Regions from separate parts of the Homo sapiens genome. Here all the other regions are linked to region 3. The links are contacts of gene promoters, found by promoter capture Hi-C in blood cells and fetal thymus (Javierre and others, 2016). All regions are on one chromosome and are shown on one strand. The core of a region is centred on a gene start or on the middle of the fragment in contact, and the rest is flanking DNA. Distances in the headings are between cores, read along the strand shown. Region 1 holds the start of CEP162 (centrosomal protein 162). Region 2 holds the start of CYB5R4 (cytochrome b5 reductase 4). Region 3 has its middle 1.7 kb from the start of BCKDHB.

Evidence for each region. The method cuts DNA at HindIII sites, captures the fragments that hold promoters and counts their contacts. A CHiCAGO score of 5 or more calls a contact.
Region 1: the fragment with the promoter of CEP162 here is called in contact with a fragment that was not itself captured in region 3 in 2 of 17 cell types (total B cells and activated CD4 T cells); the score reaches 6.3 in total B cells.
Region 2: the fragment with the promoter of CYB5R4 here is called in contact with a fragment that was not itself captured in region 3 in 5 of 17 cell types (naive B cells, naive CD4 T cells, non-activated CD4 T cells and 2 more); the score reaches 6.1 in naive B cells.

The regions. Positions count from the first base shown.
Region 1 is chr6:84,226,294-84,228,993 of GRCh38, forward strand. It overlaps CEP162 (centrosomal protein 162), which reads right to left and starts at 1,350. Exons shown (of 27, transcript NM_014895.4): 1 at 1,287-1,350; 2 at 44-159. The coding sequence starts at 100. RefSeq lists enhancers at 763-1,263, 1,264-1,764, 1,666-1,825. The HindIII fragment of the contact is 5,497 bases long and covers 1,087-2,700 here.
Region 2 is chr6:83,858,360-83,861,059 of GRCh38, forward strand. CYB5R4 (cytochrome b5 reductase 4) reads left to right here and starts at 1,330. Exons shown (of 16, transcript NM_016230.4): 1 at 1,330-1,498. The coding sequence starts at 1,424. The region is part of intron 3 of RIPPLY2-CYB5R4 (RIPPLY2-CYB5R4 readthrough); the gene reads left to right. RefSeq lists a silencer at 1,401-1,450. The HindIII fragment of the contact is 3,476 bases long and covers 1-2,535 here.
Region 3 is chr6:80,103,624-80,106,323 of GRCh38, forward strand. No RefSeq gene overlaps it. Among named protein-coding and RNA genes, the nearest start is that of BCKDHB, 1.7 kb to the right of the region's middle. The HindIII fragment of the contact is 2,245 bases long and covers 320-2,564 here.

The sequences.
Region 1 (2,700 bases), core at 100-2,599, 4.1 Mb after region 3:
TGAGACAAATTTGACAATATAGCTTTTAAAAATATAAACTTACCTCTTTCATAAACTGTTCAAACTCTTCATCTAGCTCTTCTTGGGAACAGTTAGCCATAGTCAACAATTTTGACCTCCCAAAGTAAACATTCTAAAGTACCTCAAACATTGGAAACACTAAATGACAAGAGACATAAACATCTTTTGAGGAAATCCATCAGATCATGAACACGACCAGACTTAAACTTCGGACATTTGTTATGATTCAGTATATATGCACAATTTTTTTTAACCAGTAAGAGCTGGTCAAGAGATTCCTAATTCATTAAGCAAACTGATTTGGAAAAGCAGCTTTGACAGGATGTCTTGTACTCAACGTTCAGAATTATGTTTTCATCTGTTAACATCCAATTGTTAAAGAGTGGTCTCTACAATATTTCCCAAACCTATGTTTGTGTGCATGTGTTAATTAGTACCTCTCAAACACAAACCAGGTCCTCACAGGGAATCTTAAAAACTGTAAGTTAGCAAATCCAAAGGACTGTTTCTTTCTTGCAAAGCACACGACAGTTTGTGCTGCCTTATCACTCGGCTCGTTATTTTACCAATCCATAGTAATAGTTTCGTAAAGCAGACTGCATAGTTTCGTAAAGCAGACTGTATCCAGATACGGGGATGTTTCAAAATATACACAAATAGAATTTAGTAAGAATTAGTAATTTAGTCAAAATACTTAAAGAATACTTAAAGTTAATGGAGTACACAAATCAGTACTATGTTTCTTTTGAAGCGAGGGAAGACCGACAAAAATTATGTGCTGAACACAAGCAGAATCCAGTGATTTGCAACGGAAAGCGTTCCCCTAGACACCTAATGAACCCAACCTTGGGTCGACCCCCAGCTCCTGAACTCCCTAGAGCAGCTCAAATCCCAGCTTTCTTCTGTAGAGATGGGGGAGGGGAAGAGGGCTTGCAGACCCGGACAATACCCTCCCCATCGTGCAGAGTAACACCTCTTCCCCTCATTTGCACTTTCGATCAGTTCAGGGTAAGTGCGGTTAAGGTCTTGGCCTGAATAGCTTGGTCAGGGGTGAGCTCCACTAAAAGCTTCTCAAGCCTGGCTGCGACCCCGTCCCCAGAAGCGCGGGTTCGGGAATTGGAGGGAAGACAAAGACGCATTTGCCGTGGGCTCCGGGCGGAGAAGGGGAATGACCTGGAAAATTAAAGCCCTTCGCTCGAGTATGAAGCACGGCCTCGACCAGGGCGATTTGGGTGGGAAACCAGCGTTCACACCTTACCACCTACCTCTGCCTCTGAATTCCGCGCTTTCCCGGAAGGTCTGTGCGGGTCCACCAGTTGTCAGGGTAACAGACTTCAGCTGCCGGGTTCTGGAGTCACATGACCCGGGCTGGTCACGTGGGCCGTGGGTTTCCCAATGCCTTTACAAGCGAAGGTCGGAATAACCACGGCTGAGAAAGACACTCTAGTGGCTAAACCTTCGCTGCTGCAGTAAAATGCCTTTCCTTCCCTGGCTTTCTCTACGTTCCTTAGAAAAGGGGACAGCGGCAAACCGGTTACTGGAGAAGCGAGACGGAGGCTTCCAGCAGGCTTGGAGGGCGCGGTGGTTGTAGGCCAGCCCGTGGCTTTCTGGGAAATGTAGTTTAGCTCCCCTGGTCCTTGTGTTTCCGCACTCCGCATCGTCGCCTCCCGCCTTCCCCACACTTGTCATTCGAGCGCTCTGTTTTTCCAAGGGGCAATTTTGAAGAGATTGAATTTCTTGGATTTCTTTGGCCTGCAAAGACCTGTGTAGGCATTGTGAGAGAAACACAAACCTGTGAGGAAAAAAACTGTCGTTTAGATGGGGACTCTGTTCCACCACCTAGTGGGCAAGAAATCGAAAATACGCAAACAGCAAGATTCTTATTAAGTTATTGCTCCTCCCGCTACCCCTACTTTTCAAAACTGCATTCTTTACTGGCATTTCACAATTACTGACTTGGATTTTGTTTTCTATTTCTTTTCTTTTTTTCAAAGCATGCAACATTAGCTGGAGTTTCAGAGGACAACATTTAGCATAGTGTAAGTAAAATCTACAACAGCTGCAGGTTTTGCTGATGGTAGACTTAGTTCAGGACCTCATCTTTAGCTAGAACTGTTTATTCATCAAGTCTTTCTTGCAATACAAATATGTACAAACCAGGAGCTGTGGACTATGATGCAAATATGAATAATAAAAGAAATATCTTAAGCTACCATTTATTGAGAAGTTGACTTCCTGCCACCTTCTATCAAAGACTTACCTTCCCACATATGATCTAGAGCCTTTACCCATTCTTCTTCTCACTGATCTTGTTCCACTGGTCATTTCCCTTAATCCTGTATCTTCGACTTCTGGCTGGCTGTGGGATTTTTCCTAACAGCATTTGAACATGCCTTGAGATCCCCACCTAAAACATCACTTCTGACACATTCTCTTCATGCTATTATTTCCCAGTGGTTGAAATGATCTGTCTCCTCACCTTACTTGCCAATCTTTTCTGAGGAATTATTTCCACTTTACCTCCCTTTTGTCAGACCTTTTAATCCTGTCTCTGTGTGTGTAAGTGTACATATATGACAGCGCTTTATTTGATCTCCCAATACTATTTGATACACTTGTCTCCTCTCTTTCTTGGTTTTTCTTTCACATTTATAGCCTCCCCTCAAGGGTTTTCACTGT
Region 2 (2,700 bases), core at 80-2,579, 3.8 Mb after region 3:
AGTTAATTATAGTCATGAGGTTCTTTTAGCTCAAATTCAGTCTTCTCATAATAAGCATTTCAATTGCAAATAAAAATGGATAGAGGTGAATGTCATAGGTGGCTACCTTATTTGAATGCTTGTATTTGAATGGCCACATATAGTCACACACTTTTTCTTCTGATTCTGCAAACATAACCTTGATTTTTTAGGCACTTTAAGAACTAAGTAGTTAAACAGAGAAAGTTTAAAGCATGACAATATGTTCAGAGTTAGGAAAAATTAGTAATTAAAGGAGGATGGGGAGGATTATTTAGAACTATGTTTCTTCTCCTGAAAACTTTCTCCCTTATTGGATTCTACTCTCAAGATCTATGTGTTCCCCAAGGGACACACAAAACAATCAATCAAACAAACAAAAACCATCAGATTTTGAGCATTAGAGCCTGGTGTTTACCTGCACAGTGTTGGTCCTTTTCCCATTAATATGTTGGAATAGCACAAACAGCCACTGCCACTTATTCAGTACCTAATATTAATCAGGCACTGCAGTATGTAGTTTACACATGATCCTTTAATCTTTAATAAACCCATTATGCAGATGGGGAAAATGAGACTTTGAGATACTAAAGTAACTTGCATAAGACAGCTCAGTCATTAAGTGCAGGGATGGCATGCAAACCAAATCTGACTTTTAAACGTTACTTCATCACCACAGCTGGAGGTGAGCTGCATCAGTACACAATTCCCAGTGAAGACAGGAAGTTACATAAGGAGGGAGAATTTGTGAGTGGGTGAATAGAGCAGAAGGTGACTTTACTAACGTCTTTCGCGCATTCATTAGCCCTCAGCATGCTTAAAGGTGAAGTTTAAGGATGATTAAAGGTGAGGTTTTCTTCTTACCCCACAGTAGTGGCTGTTGACATTTGATATTTTTGCTCTTAAAGGTGTGAGATGCTCTTTGCATTACAGCCTAGTGCCTTACAGGAAAGAATTTCAGAGAAACTAAAATTCGTTTTAGTCCATATTTCAAGTAGTGTGTTTTAGTCCATATTTCAAGTAGTGTGATGGTACTGCTTAACAATGAACAGACATTGCTGTTCCGGGTTAACAGGACTAAGAATTTGTTCCCACATTCGGTCAGCACCAAGGCTAAGGAACAGCTTCACTCTCTAATCTTTCCACGAAATAGCTGTCACCTTGCTCCGGTGCTGAAGTTCGGGATGCGGAACTAGCTGAGCATGCGTACTTCCTCCCTGCCGGCCCTCCCTCCGTCCCGTTGGCTCCGCCCTCCGCGGACGTGCTGCGTCAGAATGCGCCTCACCCCTGGCGACCCCGGAAGTGGGTCGGGGGCTTGGCCTCTGCCCGGCCACAGAGCCGGAGCTGGAGGTGCTGTCCCGTCTGGCGGCGATCCCCGGGCAGGGCCCGGGGCCGGGGTTTGAAGATGCTGAACGTCCCTTCCCAGTCTTTCCCGGCCCCCAGGTCGCAGCAGCGTGTCGCCTCCGGGGGGCGTAGCAAGGTAAGCGGGTGGCTCCGTGAGTCTCTCCCCTCGCTGCGTTTCGAGCTCTGGCAGTGTGTTCTCTTCTTCCGCCCCAACTCCCAGCTCCTGCACCCCTCTCTAAGCTGTCGTTCCCTGCTGTCCTTGCCTGCAACCTCTTTCTGATCCCACTTTGTCTACAGTCCCTAAACTCTCCTTACCTCCTCCCTTTCCCCTAGCAGTCCCTCTTCTTTCTGGTCCTTTATCCCGCTCTATCCGTTCCCTTCCTCCAAGTCCTTTCCCGCGATTTAAATTTATATGACAGAGCCAGGCACTGTGTTTGCGGTATTATAGGCTCTCGGTATTAGCCGCCTTCCCTCAACCTCATCTTCTCCCTGGTCTTTTGTTCTTCACTGCCTGAAGGAGTTGTACCACATCACTCGATGTGGGTTCCCTCGCAGGAGGGAAAGGCTTGGCAGTGGCGACAGTGACCGTCCGTGCAAGGATGGGGACTTCTGGAGTTGGGGAGCTAGGTCAGGTTTACAGACACTATCCAAGACATACTGCCTTTCTTTCTTCCTCTGGTACCTGATTGTTTTGTCATTGCCTTTTCTACTAGTATCACTTGCTAACTTCGAAGCAAATATAATAATACTCTTGAGTTCTTGTTGAGCACAGTTGCTGTTAGCAACAGGTGGAATACTGTACAGATATATTTTATATTTGCAGAATTCAATAAAAATTGTGTTCTTTGTTCTTTTGCGAATGTTGTTTGTTCCTATTTGTTAGTTCCTCATTCTGTAACCATATCTTTATCTTTCGTTTGTGACACTTCCACTTAACTTGGGCCACTCGGTTAACTCTTGAGTCTTAGCATCGTTTGGAACCCTTATCGATTTTCTTATTTTTCTCCACTTAGACCTGGCGTTCTGATTCTAGTTCAGAATGAATATAGGTTCAGGGATCTGTGGTTTTCATTAGCTTTCCAGAGATTTCTTAAGTACTTACGGGTGGCCGTGTATATTCTCAGTGCTTTGCATGTATTAACTTTAATTTTCACAATTATCCTTTGAAGTGAAAGCTTTTATTGTCTCTATTTCGCAGAAAAGGAAACTGGCTAAGAAATATTGCCCTAAATTGCGTAGGCTTGTGTTGTGGTTCTGCTGTGAAATTTCATTTACTGATTCATATATCAATCATCTAGCCATCCAATCATGTATATTTTTCTCATTGGTTTTTGACCT
Region 3 (2,700 bases), core at 192-2,691:
TTTTCTATTGTTGCGTTTAAGACTTTCAATCAGTATATTCTAGACACAAGTCCTTATCATTCTGATTGCTGGGTCTCCTCAAGTTCCCTGGATCTTGTTGCCATAGCTGCATCTCTCTTGGCCACATGGGAGAAGCATCCTGCTGTTTCAAATGCCATGACATGCTGGGTAGCCTGAGGATTTAGTGATACTTTTCTAGGTTCATCTACAAAGGAGGATACCTACAGGTCTTTCTAATCTATAGCTGTACCTCCATGGAAGGTGAGACAAACCATCTCTTATACTGGTATGTGATTTACAATCTTTTCTTTTAGCCCTAAGCTTTGTTTCCTAACTCATTCAGGTTTTTGAGGTTTAATACTCAGAAACCAGTCTGTAGAATTCAAACTTTTCTCTCAAATTATTGTCTCTGCTATCAAGTTTAAAATCTATTTTAAAATTCAAAAGCAATAATTTGATTTCTTTTTTTTCTGCCTCCATGATACCTCTGTTTGAGTTTGAAAGGAGGCAGATGCCAGGATGTAATACTGCAAAACTATCATCTTGCTATATAAAATGGTCGTCTAAAAGCAAGCTGAGACTAAACAGGTACAAGTTGCACAGGTAGTGAAGCTCAGTGAGAGCAAGTGATGCAAGAGTCATTCTGAAGGGTGAAGAGCAACTTTGCTTTGTATTCCAACTCCATAGTCATGGGTTCTGCAATTGGAAATAGCTTAAACAAAGAGGGGAATACATTTTAAGGATACGGTGATGTCTCATAGAACCCCAGGACCAGAAAGCAGTTAGGCCTTGGGAATAAATGGAATCAGGAACTCAAATATAATCACACTCTTCACCTTTTCTGGTTCACGAAATTACTGAAAACTCCCATTTTTTGCAGTTCCTAGTGGCATTTAAAGATAATCTGATCTTTCTTTCTAAACTACACTTCCAAAATTCCCAGAAAAGGACAGTTTCCCAAATTGAGTAAATGTGGCCAGGGCAAGGGGAATGGAGGAAAGTCCCACTGTAATAACATAGACATTTTCATGGTTACCAGGCAAATGGTGTGGTAGAGATGGGGAAAATTTAAAAAATCAGTTTGCAAAACAGGTGAATCTGGCAGGTGCTCTGTTTGTTTTTCCTGGCTGCATGTAGTTGAAAGTTCAAACCTCTTAGACCTTCAAAATCTCCCTTTAATCTGTTTTTCCTACTTTTTCTGTTAACCCTGTATCATTCCCTACACCCTGAATCTAGAAGCACCAAGCTATTTTCTCTTCCTGGAATGCACTGTGCTCTTCATGCCTATCAGCCTTTATACAGGTTTCTTCTTAGTTTGGAATGCCATTTTCTCCCTAGTCTGCCTGGTAACTTCTAGTCATCTTTTAGGTCTAGCTCAGAGTTATATCTGGAAACACTTGACTTTCAAATAAGAGTTTATTGCTCTTTTTGTGTTTCACTTTGTTTGCACTATTCTAGGACTCCTATCACATTGGATTGTAGTTGCCTAATCTGTCTCTTTTCTCTACCACCTTGGACATTTTAGAAGTAAAACTATGCCTTGATCTTATTTGTCTCAATGGTGGCTTGTCATTGGGTTGTACGTAGCAGAGGTTCAATAAAATTCTCATCAGTTATTATTTTTCTCTTTTTCTCCCCGACCTAAATAATCTCAGTACCCCCAGCTCCCTAAACTATCAACAAATAGAAAAAAAGCTCTATTCATTTTTATCCTTGTTCTTTACTCTCCTTAGTTTAAACCCAAATTTGACTATGTAAATGTAATTTCATTTTGTTACCCCTTCCTTCATTAAAACAAAAATACCCTTCATGCACATGCAAAACACTCTACCCCACACTATTAAAACAGCAGAAATGAACACTAACAAAAGCCAAGATAAAAAATTTCCCCAATGTTGAATTTTTGGACTTAGTGTGGGGGTAGGAAAAATGGAGACATAATTCTGGTTCTCCCTTTGGCAGTTTTCAATTGCTGTTTCTTAATCTCAGTCAGAAAACACATTTCTCTGCCTCTCCTTTTGCCCCATTTCTACCCTCTCCTCCCTTGCCCCTGTGCAAAACCAAAGATGGGTTAAGAGGCAAGGCATAATGGAAGAGGAATGTTCTTTTCCTCCACTCCCACTTTCTTCTTCAAATTCTGTTTTGGGACCATCCTTCCCCACCCTCCCATTTTCATCTGATGGACACACTGTCTCTGTTGTCTCTTGTCATATTTGATTTTATGATATTTCATGTTTTATGTGCTTTTTTTTTTTTTTAGTAAATTCATGGACAGAGAATGTATCCTGGTAAACACTTAGATTAAAACAAATTTACATAGTTGATTACTATAAATGAAAATTAGTGACTCAAATTCTCCAGGTTTCTAAGCTACTTAGACTAAGCCAATCAGGTAATTTTTGCTACTTCTGGGCAAAATGTATCTGAATTCCTATTCAGTGGATTTGCAGGATGAAATCTAAGTTTACCTCTTTCATCTCTCATTTAAATGTGGAAAAACGAAATCAATAAAAATCTATATATGCTTATTAAGCATTTTAAGGAGGGTGTGAATAAGGAGTGAAAGCTTTGAGCAGTGACTACAGCAGTTTTTCGAAAGTCAAAACAATAACCAATGCCAATCAGTAGCTCTCTTCACCTCTCACACAATAATAGAGACAGGACAGGATAAAAAAGGGTTACATTTAAAAAAAAGTATGG